Linked DNA regions of Homo sapiens: regions 1, 3 and 4 are each linked to region 2. Evidence: promoter capture Hi-C in 16 types of primary human blood cells and fetal thymus (Javierre and others, 2016). All regions are on one chromosome and are shown on one strand. Each heading gives the region's core, a stretch centred on a gene start or on the middle of the fragment in contact. The rest is flanking DNA. Distances are from core to core; before and after follow the strand shown.

Region 1 (2,743 bases), core at 96-2,595, 600 kb before region 2:
AAATCAGACATCCATCACAGTCCCATCTAACCAGCAGTGGCATACTCTTGATCATGTGAAATCTGAGAAAAAAAGTAAAACTATATCAGCAAAACTGCTCCCAAATGGAGGGGAAAAAGCCAATTCAAATGTATATACCAATGATAATATCTAAAGACCATATTGTCAGTATATATCTAAATAAATTAAATGAATTGATGCCTTTTTAATGTTTAAGTGTTTTCTCTCCTATTTTGCACGTTTCCCTGATTTGATGAAGTCCTAGAAGATTAAAGTGCATGTTAATGCCACATCCCAAAAGAACCTCTGGCATTCAAACTTTCAAGTGCAGACAATCTAGTCACACAGAACCGTTGTTTGTCTCATTCTGTGTTCTAATGAAGAGCAAACACTGGCTTGTGAAACTCTTTTTCATTATCGGAAACCAGATAAGCCAATGGGGGAAACACACCATTGTGCTTTCCTTTTTATATCCATGCCATTGCAATATACACCCAAACTCCAAGTTGGGGCATTTGTCTATGATTGCCTGGATTTTTCTACTTGAACAAATCCAAGTTGGTTTTTGAATGTGTGAGCAACAGCAACTTGCTTTTCCTGTTGTTTTCCTTTTCCTCACTTCACTTCTTCTTCACTTCACTTAAACACCTTTGTCTTAGTCAATTGGGGCTACTATAACAATATACCATAGACTGGGTGACTTAAACAACAAACATTTATTTCTCACAGTTCTGGAAGCTGGGAAGTCCAAGGTCAAGGTGCCAGCTGCTTGGGTTCTGGTGAGGGCCCTCTTTTGGGCTTACAGATGGCTGCCTTCTTGCGGCATCCTCATAGTGAAGAGAGAGAGAAGTCCGTGGTCTCTTCTTCCTCTTATAAGGGCACTAATCCCATTCATGAGGCTTCACCCTCATTACTTCCCAAGGGCCCCACCCACTAATACCATCACATTTAGGGGTTAGGGCTTCACGATATGAATTTTGCAGGAGACATAAACTTTCAGTCTACAGCACCCACCAGAGGAGTTTTAACATATTTAAGTTCTACTTTTCCCCTCTATTGCTTAATTTATTGTATTTCTCTTTTCTTTCTGTTGAAAGAAGAATCTGTGTTGAGCAGGCTGCCAGATTATTCCAGAGAATTGATTGAAGATATTTCCTCGGGAAGACTTTCTTGGCAGATAGACAAAATGCATCCTGTATGTTTCTGCAGCAGCCCATAGAGTGCAGCACCGCACTACTCGCTCCCTCCCAGGACGAAACTCTATGAGTTGTCAAATTAATTTCTTCTTTCTAAAATGCATAACACAGTCCTTTCTGGGCTTCTATCTGTTCAAGAATTTAGAACCAGAACTTTAGACAAAGGGATTTTAATTGCATGCTGATAAAATGTCAAAACTATTGTGCATAAAGTAACTGTGCTTTTTTATTTTTTTGTACAATGCCTCAAGGATTATGAGAGAGATTTGCCCCTGTGAGTGAAATCCATTTTGTAACTCATCAGAAAATCTTTAACCTATGAGCTAATTCTTATAATCTCCTCTATAAGCCATTACACTGTGTCTTTCCACCTTCTAGATCGCACAGTTATACAATAAGTTAAAATGAGTGGTCTGCAAATTTGGTTAACCCATTGCTAACTTCAAGTAGTGATTTTTATCTCCCTCTGAAAATCTGAATGATGAATAAGGACTGTTGCTTGTTTGGAGAAGTTGCTTATTTCACAGGACACAGCTGTTACGCCTCATGTTAAACTGTGAAGAGCTGCATCAGAAGGTCACCTTCCCGAACTGTCCTTCCTACTTTAAAAAGAAAATACCCAGAGAAGACAACAAGGATGTGGCTTGACTTTCAAGGCCATCCAGTGAGATAAAAGAGTTTCTCCAGGTGATGGTGGGAGTTTTCAACCAAGGCATAGGTGTTACCATTGGTACCCAGAATAGTTGGGGGGGTTGGGGGGCAACGCTGCTGGGTTTACAGAACAATTGCTAAGGCACCAGCAGGATACCTAGAAATACACACTCATCTTCCCAAAGACAAGTTTTTATTTCTATCACAGACACAATCTCTGAGGCAGCGATTAGTGAGAAGTAAAATTCAAAAAAACTAAGGCATTTTTCATTGTCTTTAGTATTTAAGAAAAAGGGTCCCCAAATATTTCCATTTGAGATGACAAAGTGCTCTTCAGTCATTTAGCTTACTCTTCAGTTCAGATGACTTATCATCTTGATTTCAGAGAGTTCATATATGTCTGTTTTAAAAAACTGGTTCAAAAAGTCTGAAGTTACGAAACTAAACCAAATATGCATTACTCTCATGTCAAATTACAAGCTCTTAGCTGCTGGGATTTTTTCACATGCAGCCTGGAGCCCTTGAAAACCTCTGTTTTCTGTTAGACTCTCCAGGGTACACAGAAGTTGCCTCATTATTTTAGTTAATGGTGACTGCAAATAAGCCCCCCAAGTCATTTAACTATGTGCTTACCACTGCTTTAAAAGAACCCCAAGTTAGGTCCTCATGTAGGTAAAGGAGCTCCCTTCACATATATGTGTTCCTAAACTTGTCAAAGATTGTAGCAAAGCAATTTAAAGCTAAGATAAGGGTAACTCTCAATACAAGATTATTTTGAAAATGCTTAAACAAGCATTTTTATTGAAGTCTAGCATACATACAGAAAAGTATAAAAATATTAAGAGTATAGTTCAGTGAAGAAATACTATGAAGGAAATGGATCAAGGAAGACTTTA
Region 2 (2,829 bases), core at 115-2,614:
TTAGCATATCTGAAGAAGTGTATGCATTTTTTACAAGTTCTACGTTAAAAGGAGTTCCAAAAATGAACTCACACAGGAATAAAGAAATCCATCTTATACCTCATCCTCTTGGAGATACTCAGACATATTACAAGAGAAACCACGCATCTGTCTTTTAGCATATACCAAAAAGCTCGTGAAACCTGGAATACAGCTTTGGAGCAATATACACCTAGATAATAATAGTACTTATTTATTTAGTTACTTCTTCACTTTAGAAAATTTTAAGCATATGTACAAGTAGAGAGAATAGTATAATGAACCCCCATGAGGTACCCATATCCAGCTTCAACTATTATCAACTCATGGTCAGTCTTACTTCAACTATACCCTCAACCACTTTTGAAGCAAATCCAAAATACTATGTCACTTCACCTGTCAATATGCTTGTAACACCATAGTATTGATATATCTTGTTCTTGTTTTAGATCTGGGATTCCTACTTTTACCTCGCAGTCATTTTTATAAACCAGTTGTGTCTGCAGTTGGAGATGTTCACACCTTCCAAGAAGAAAAAGGTGTTAGAAAAGTAAGTATCAGTGTATAATCAGGTGAGAAATGTTGCCTCTTAAAGAGTATTTAGTTCAAATGATTCATAAATCAGAATGCGCATAACTGGAAATCACACAGTGAAGAACCAGTGACCAAGGGGTCAAGAAGCAGTCTTTTCTGGATGTTTTGATATTTCAAACATGTTTGCACATTGTTTTGACCTGGCTCTTTCAGGATTCAAAATTTCTATAGATGCAAAAAATTATGAAACAGATCTCTTTTACTAAAAGGTTTACACCAGAATTTGACTTAGAGGCATCGTGACATGTATATTAAATGTCTTTAATTAAAAACTCCTTGCCTTGTAATTCAGAATGATAGATTGTATCCTAAAGACACACAAATACTTCCTTGTTCTGGAGGCATTGTATCAGGTTTGGTTTTTTGTTCTATTTCAGGTATGGTGACATGCGGGTAACAATGGGTTGTGAAATTTTCAGCATGTGGCAAAACCTAGGTAAGTGAGGAAAAGAGAAGCCACATCTACTATACAGCTCCTCGCTGTACCTTGAAGTGTACAAATGAAGAAAGGCAATTTACCAGTGACACCATGTGAAACCAAATGTCTAAATCAATAAACATCTATAGAAAGTAATTGACACTTTGGCATTGAATGAGGTTACAACAAATTCTTTAAATTGGTCTCTAAGAAAAGTCACCTTACCTTTGTGTGTTTCATTATTAATTAACGATAAATTTTATAATCTAGCATTGCTCCAACATTACACATATTTCCAGCGATGAGGCAACCTTTCAGAATTTGGAACTGTAACAACTCAAAATTTCTAGAACTCTGAGTTGAAGCTATGAATCATAATAAATTTAGGTTAAACTTCATGAAACATTGACTTGAACGTCACTACTCTTAAAAACTTGAGACCATTGTCCTATATCATAAAGAGTATAGCCAAAGGATTTTAAAAGCATCTGCAGTTGCTAAGAAACTGTTGGATCCAATTTTGTTAATCTGCTATAGCAGATAGAGTATATTATTCCAGAAAATTGATGGTACAGATCTGGTTGCATAGAAAACAGTAATATTTGGAAAACAAATTGTTTTAAAATTCATTGGCATAGGGTCCCTTTCTAGAGATTTATAAGTTATTTCATTTGGTATGTTAACTATGCAGGTTTTTAGTATTCATTTACTATTACTGCATCTTAATGCTCCTCTTTGATTTATTAAAATGATTGACCTATTTGAGTTGAATACGTAATGACCTGAAAATATCTTTTCTCTTGGGCTTATCCAAGTACAACTTGGAGATTGGAAGGATTTATTTTCTGTGAATGAAAATAGAACCATTATTGTTTTACTTCCACTCATGTTAACAGACTGATTTTTGACCAGGATCATTACAGGGTGATTTTTTTTTAATAGGGTATGTATATTCCTCAAATATACATAACAACTTGAGGGAGCCTTGGTATATATAATTAAGCCCAGTGTTCAATGCTTGCTGGTGATTTCAGAAAAAATAAAAAATAAAAAAAAATAATGAAGCTGGGAGCAATGGCTCATGCCTGTAATCCCAGCACTTTGGGAGCCTGGAGCGGGCAGATCACTTGAGGTCAGGAGTTTGAGACTAGCCTGGCCAACATGGTGAAACCCTGTCTTTACTAAAAATACAAAAATTAGCCAGGCGTGGTGGGGGGGTGCCTGTAATCTCAGCTACTTGGGAGGCTGAGGCAGGAGAATCACTTGAACCTGGGAGGTGGAGGTTGCAGTGAACCAAGATCGCTCCATTGCACTCCATCAGCCTGGGTGACAGAGTGAGACTCTGACTCAAAAAAAAAAAAAAAAGAGTTATCATCTTGAAAACAACCTTCAACTATGTAAGGCCAGCCAGAAGATATCATGGTCTGTCTTTAGTTGCAGCTCAAAAATAGTTTTCTTATTTGGAGACTGCTCTTCTTAGTCTTCAGTGTTTTCAGGTTTCATTGATTCTTTGTGTCCTTGTTTTTCCTAAAGAAGATCAAGGCCCTTGTAGTGTCCATATTGCATTCGACATTAATTTAGCAAGATGTTTTTGAAAGAATGCTGCATTGAATCTGTTTGAATGCACTTGTGGTTGTGTAAGCTCTTTTCTGGGCTCAAATTATGAGAGCAGGACAGATTCTGTTCGGTTACAAGAATGTTAAAAAAGAATGACCAGTTTCTGTTCTAGATACATCTCAGCATTGCCATCTATGGTTATTTCCACATAAACCTGTATCCAAACCATAATAGCTATGCAT
Region 3 (2,900 bases), core at 73-2,572, 540 kb before region 2:
GAAGACATTACTGTAAAGAGGAGGGGCAAGAATATACAGAGAGAAAAACATGCAAAAACACTGAGGCAGAGAAAAGTGCAGTCTCCTGTCCAAGGAGCAGAAGGAGGCCTGGTTGCCTGGGGAATAGTGGGCACTCCAGAAAATGGCATGGGACAAGATGGAAGATATGTGGGTCATGTAGAGGCCGGGCATAGTGGTTCATACCTGTAATCCCAGCATTTTAGGAGGCCAAGATGGGTGGATCACTTGAGGCCAGGAGTTCGAGACCAGCCTGGCCAACATGGCGAAATCCAGTCTCTATCAAAATTACAAAAATTAGCTCAGCATGGTTGCGCATGCCTGTAATCCCAGCTACTCAGGAGGCTGAAGTGGGACAATCGCTTGAATCAGGGAGATGGAGGTTGCAGTGAGCCGAGATCGCACCACTGCACTCCAGCCTGGATAACACAGCGAGACTCTGTCTCAAAAAAGAAGAAAAAGAAAGTTTAGACTTGATTCCATGTTCAACTGGAAGCCATTTGTATCAGCTGGGAAGCTTTTATTGTGAGTAATAGAAACTCCACTTAAAAAGTTCAAATAATACAAGGGGAGTTTATGGCCCGACTAAATGAGAAATCCAGAGGAGGACAGCTCTCAGGTGAGGGCTCTGGCTCCTTCCTCAGAAATTATCTTGATTTTGCTCTTCTCTGAAAGTTCTTGGGCTAGTTTCTCTCAACGCCACTTGACGGCTTTGGCAGCAACTAGGGTACGGGTTTGTTTTTTCATAAGGAAAGGGAGTCTTAGTTTCTCTGAGTCATTTAGCAGAAATCTTCAGCTTCTCCCTGATTGGAGCAACCTGGACTGGCCACAGTGACCCAGGCTTGCTATGCACCTTTGACTTGGGTTTAGTTACTGCCCATCTCTAATCCAATAAGCCAGTCTGCAGTGAGGGTGAAGTTATTACTCTAGTCAGCACTCCCCTCCCCCTGGAGGTAGGGCTGGGGTCAATTCCAAATGGCATGGCTGTTACTTAATGAGGGTAGAGTGGCTCCCCAAAGAATTGGAAAACTATAAGGAAAGAAAGAAAGGAGAATGGATGCTGGGTAAGTAACCGAGAAGGTCCGTTACACCATGTGAGGATTTTTTTTTTTTTTTTTGAGATGGAGTCTCACTCTGTCACCCAGGCTGGAGTGCAGTGGCACAATCTCAATTCACTGCAGCCTCCACCTCCGGGGTTCAAGTGATCCTCCCACCTCTGCCTCTCAAGTAGCTGGGATTACAAGTGTGCACCACCATGCCCAGCTAATTTTATTATTTTTGGTAGAGACGGGGTTTCACCATGTTGGCCAGGCTGGTCTCCAACTCCATGGGAGGACTTTTAAAAATCCACTCTAGCTGTTACGAAGGAACACACTGGAGGGTCCAGAGAGGAAGGAGGGAGGCCAGTTAGGAAACTGTTATAGTAGTTCAGATAACAGACCATGGTGGCAGGGACTGAGATGTGTTTGGAGATAGAACTGAAAGGACTTGGTGACTGACCTGACGAGGGAGGAGGCAGTTTTGGCAGACTGTGAGGAGTCTCAAATGCCAGTCTTTGGAGTTTTTGTCTTTTAGGCAATGATGGAGGTGTAAGAGTGGGTTGTTTTTTTTGTGACAGTAAGAGATTAATAATGTTTGCTTTTTACTTTCACTTTCTCCCCCTCCTTTAGAATTAAAAAGAATTTATAAACAATTTACTACAGCATACTCTTTTTCTCTTCTGTTTCCAAATGAATAAAACACCAGTATCTATGAACTTAACTAGAGTTTGATTTCCTGCTCACTCTGTAACCAAGTCAATTGACTGGGAATATCCTCAAAAATTGTTTTTTTGCAGTCTAATTTTATAAGGCAAAAAGAGCATAGCTTCACTTACATCTTAGAACATTGTGAAGTCAATATTAACTTCGCTGAATGTTTCAGTCTGAATTTAATGTGCTTATGATGCCACTGCAGATTGCTATCATCAGGAATCGAACATGCTTTAGCCTTTCAATATATCAATTATAAGGCATAAGAGTTCAACTGCAGCAGTTTAATCCTTTAACTACCCATCATCTAAAACTTACTGAAGGAGTTGAATTAAGCTTCAAGGATGCAGGGTGGCTATTTTTGCAGACTAAGCAAACAATAGTTGAAATTTGATGCCCTTGATGGAAATGGATGGAGTCTGTCAATTCTGCATATACATTCAGCAAAGTACTGACATTAAAACATTTATTCTTGTTCTGAGTGCATGTTCTACTCCATCCTCTCAAAGAATTGCTTTTCCTCCATTCATTAAAAAAGCTCAGGACTTGGCTTTGTCTCATTTTAAATTCCCATATATTATATTGTTGGATGTCACTTTGTTGTGCTTTTTTCTTTTGGCAGGTCCTCATCTCTCTGATCCTGTTTCCCATCGTCTCTTTACCCTTGATGAAGATAAAATTCCTGGCTAGACACCTTGTAAGATTGTATCTTCATTGTCAAGTGAGATAGAAAAGCTGTGAGGACCACTGAGCCTTACATAAAATGTTTTCTTCTGTGGTGACACAACACCTAGATTTGTAGCAGTTACTGTCATGATCTGCCAGTTCTTTTTTGCAATAACAGTTTCTCAGTCTTTGTGTGAGGGCCTTCCCCTACCTTCAGAGGATGCTAAATCAATGTGTGAGGCAAGCTGGAAGTGCCAGGGAATTAATACTGCCCCTGGGAACAGCCCTCAACCCATGACCAATGGGAGTGGGTGAATGGCCTAGCTTTTTTGCCCCTTGGTGGTGGTAGTGAGGGGGCGGCGGGGGGTGTTGTGGGGCAACTGTAAGAATAGTGTTCTGTGCAATCTCCCAGAGGTCCTCAGTGAGGTTGAGTCCTAGTTCCCATACCAGCAACTTCTTCCTTAA
Region 4 (2,918 bases), core at 49-2,548, 620 kb before region 2:
GCCAAAAGAGCAAGACAGAAACCTCCTAGTCTAGCCTTAAGCTTCCTTAGCTCCCTTTGTGCCCTGTAAAGCACTAATGGTGTCAGTAGCTTTCTGGCCACAACAGGATACACAGGATACTGGTAGTAACAGCAATACGCTCGAAAAATAATAAGCAGAAAATGTTCTAGGATCAAGGACACATGAAGAAAAGAAGGTGGGAGGGAGGGGAGGAGAAGGATGAGGCAAGAAAGAAGAAGAAAGGAGGAGCTCAAAGGAATGGTCCTTCCACTCTCACTGGCCTTTGGGGAGCTTCTGTATCAATTAGCTGGGGAACACGGTGCTGACCTAGGTGAAACATGATGCTGGGAGAATCTTCTACATCAGGCCCCAGGCTGTATGAGTACCCCAGGCCACTTCTGGCGGAGTAGCAAACTGCAGTAGGTGATCCTTCTGGCTCCCTTTAGTCTAGTCCACCCACTTGGTCAACCCCAAAATGAACAGAGATAGAAAGGGGATGAAAAGTAGTTAGGAGTGAACATATGTGTGGAAGAGAAGCAGAGAATTAGCCCCATTCCTGGACATGGGCTCACGAAGGTTTATTTTGGGTAGGCCAGATGTGAAAGACTTCTCTATTTTCTAGTGTTCCCAGGGCAACAAAAATCAGGGCTCATGTCATTTGTGATGAAAAGGAAGTTTAGACTTTTACCAGGTTCTCCTTCCTAAGTGCTTCTGAAAATCCCCAAGGAATGCTTACCTGTTCCACACATCTTCCCTAGCTACTGCTTGTCCCTTCAGCTAAGAGCTAGACTGCTGCTCCAGTCTTCAGCAGGCCACCCCTGGCCATCTCAGAACCACCTTCCAGATTGTTGCCAGGCTTCCCTATCTGCTGTATTCCCGGCACTGACACATGCCCATCCCTGAATCCCTGAAGTACCACAACAATCAGGAGGCTTGGGATAACAGAAGGGAATTATGATATAGAAAACAGCATTTTCCTAAAAAAGAATTGGGCTCCCAAATCCTTCACCTGCCTCAGGTTGCATCTTTTCTACGTTGCTGATTACAATTTTTTGCTTTCCTTGGCTCCTAACTCCCTCTGTGGAATGAGAGTGGGCAGCTCCAAGTCCTTTTATCCAAGAGAAGAAGCCCTTAGGGCTCTGCAGGTGCTGTCAACCCCACCATACCTCTGATTTGTATCTGCCAACATGGAACAGACATGGAGAGGATAAAGAAGTAGGAAGAAGCTGAGAAGAAGGGAGATGAGAAAGTGCTGACTGAAACATCAGCACTATGCTCTATGGCTCAGAAGTGTCTTCTAATAGTAACATTCTATATTTTATTTATATAACAACTTTTCTCATGAGTTATGCTCTTATAAGAAAAACTGAAGGACTATCAATAGAAAACTTAACCAAGCTGCAATTTTTGTAACATGAGGTTGCAGAGTATATTCTTTTTTAGGAAGATGCTAGGCCTGCCTTATCCCGAAAGAAAAAAGAATATGCCTTGTTTATTGAAATTGCTAAAATATTAAATTGATATCATGAGTCCCATTTTAGTGTGTCTGAGTGAGAATCTGTTGAAGCAGACGGGACATTATGGGAAGAAATCTTACAAAGTAAAATTAGATTTTTCATACACAGAGTAGCAGCTGTTCAGATTGCAGGAAAATCCTTAGAAGCCATTTATCAGGTGGCAATGTGGTGAACAACAAAGACAACTCTTCTTTCAGATGTGAGAATGGTCCAGCACACCTCTGTGACTGCAGATGACAGCATGCTGTGTTCCAAATATTGGAACTATTGAATAACTGATGTTCAAAGATTTATACATCTGAATGAACATTCTAGAGTGCAAATTGCCTTTGACTTAACGTGACCAAAAACAGAATTCTAAAGTGTAATCACATGCTGGATGTGCCCAACGACTATGATACAGAGTGATGTGTGCATAGGCCAGTGGTTTCTTTAGGTACAAGACATGCCAAACACAACTGAATAGCCAGGTTTGAGATTAGGCAAGTGTTTTAAAGTAGAAAAAGCCACAATTGGGATAAAAACAAAGCAAGAATATGGGAGACAAACAAGAAAGTACAACGGAGTAATTGCAACTAAGGCAACTCAATTGGTAGATAGGTCTAAGAACCAAAGAGTTCAAACATTTGTAAATTATTTTCCTGCTTTTGGACAGACAGGTCAAAGTTACTTTTCTGAACTAGAAAGATTTGTAGGGAGATGAATTTTAGAGGCAGTAAAGGGCCACCCCAAAGTAAAACTGTCAAGTTAATAAAGTCTGTTGTCATGATGACAATAGCTTTTGAGAAGAGGATTGACATGATGTCAACGTTTTGTTTTGAGGAAGATTAATCTACTGGTAATAAGAAAGATGACTTGAAAGGGGACGGGCAGGGTGGATTCAGGTTTTGTGTGTCTGAAGCTAATACCAGCTTTAAAAGGGTAGGGGCTCTGTTTAAGAAAAAGAATACAGATTCAAGTATACAAAATTTGCTAGGGCCCTTCCCAGAGCCTTTGAATGGCTTCATGCAAGGAAAGGAGTCTGAAGGTTAAGCTTCCTTACCTTCGATAAGCCACCTCATAAGCAGATGATAGCTAAGCCACTAACAGTGTCACCCTCATCTTGCCAGCCACCCAAGTGAGACCCCCAGGAGTCATCTTTTATCCTTCATCCTATTTCCTCTTCAGTCACCAAGCCATGCCCATTTAATTTCCTAAGTATTTCTCAAGTTCATTTATTTCTTCATTCTTCATTCCAGTACCTTAGATCTACCTGTCACTGCCTCTTAACTACTCCATTGCAAATAGCTTTTCCAAACTCGTTCCCTGTTTCCACCCTGTTTACCTCCTAGAAACCTATCCTTCACCCAGCCGCTCAGAATACTCTATCTATGGGTAGATCTGATAATCTCACACTTCTGG

What was found. Contacts are between HindIII fragments. The CHiCAGO score rates a contact against its expected background, and 5 or more counts as called.
Region 1: a contact is called between a fragment that was not itself captured here and the fragment with the promoter of DOCK4-AS1 in region 2, in 3 of 17 cell types (endothelial precursors, M0 macrophages and M1 macrophages). The highest score is 10.3, in endothelial precursors.
Region 3: a fragment that was not itself captured here is called in contact with the fragment with the promoter of DOCK4-AS1 in region 2 in 2 of 17 cell types (M1 macrophages and M0 macrophages); the score reaches 6.6 in M1 macrophages.
Region 4: a fragment that was not itself captured here is called in contact with the fragment with the promoter of DOCK4-AS1 in region 2 in 3 of 17 cell types (endothelial precursors, M1 macrophages and M0 macrophages); the score reaches 12.4 in endothelial precursors.

Annotation. Positions count from the first base shown.
Region 1 is chr7:112,409,855-112,412,597 of GRCh38, reverse strand. No RefSeq gene overlaps it. Among named protein-coding and RNA genes, the nearest start is that of IFRD1, 39 kb to the left of the region's middle. The HindIII fragment of the contact is 5,468 bases long and covers 1-2,743 here.
Region 2 is chr7:111,807,040-111,809,868 of GRCh38, reverse strand. It overlaps DOCK4-AS1 (DOCK4 antisense RNA 1), which reads right to left and starts at 1,364. Exons shown (of 2, transcript NR_103806.1): 1 at 1,256-1,364. DOCK4 (dedicator of cytokinesis 4) reads left to right here. Exons shown (of 53, transcript NM_001363540.2): 29 at 468-568; 30 at 990-1,048. The HindIII fragment of the contact is 9,376 bases long and covers 1-2,829 here.
Region 3 is chr7:112,350,030-112,352,929 of GRCh38, reverse strand. It overlaps ZNF277-AS1 (ZNF277 antisense RNA 1), which reads left to right and starts at 2,389. Exons shown (of 3, transcript NR_186626.1): 1 at 2,389-2,466. The HindIII fragment of the contact is 1,570 bases long and covers 538-2,107 here.
Region 4 is chr7:112,428,298-112,431,215 of GRCh38, reverse strand. It overlaps LOC105375457 (a long non-coding RNA gene), which reads left to right. Exons shown (of 3, transcript XR_001745325.2): 3 at 1-2,918. It also overlaps a transcript of IFRD1 not described here. Among named protein-coding and RNA genes, the nearest start is that of IFRD1, 21 kb to the left of the region's middle. The HindIII fragment of the contact is 2,509 bases long and covers 44-2,552 here.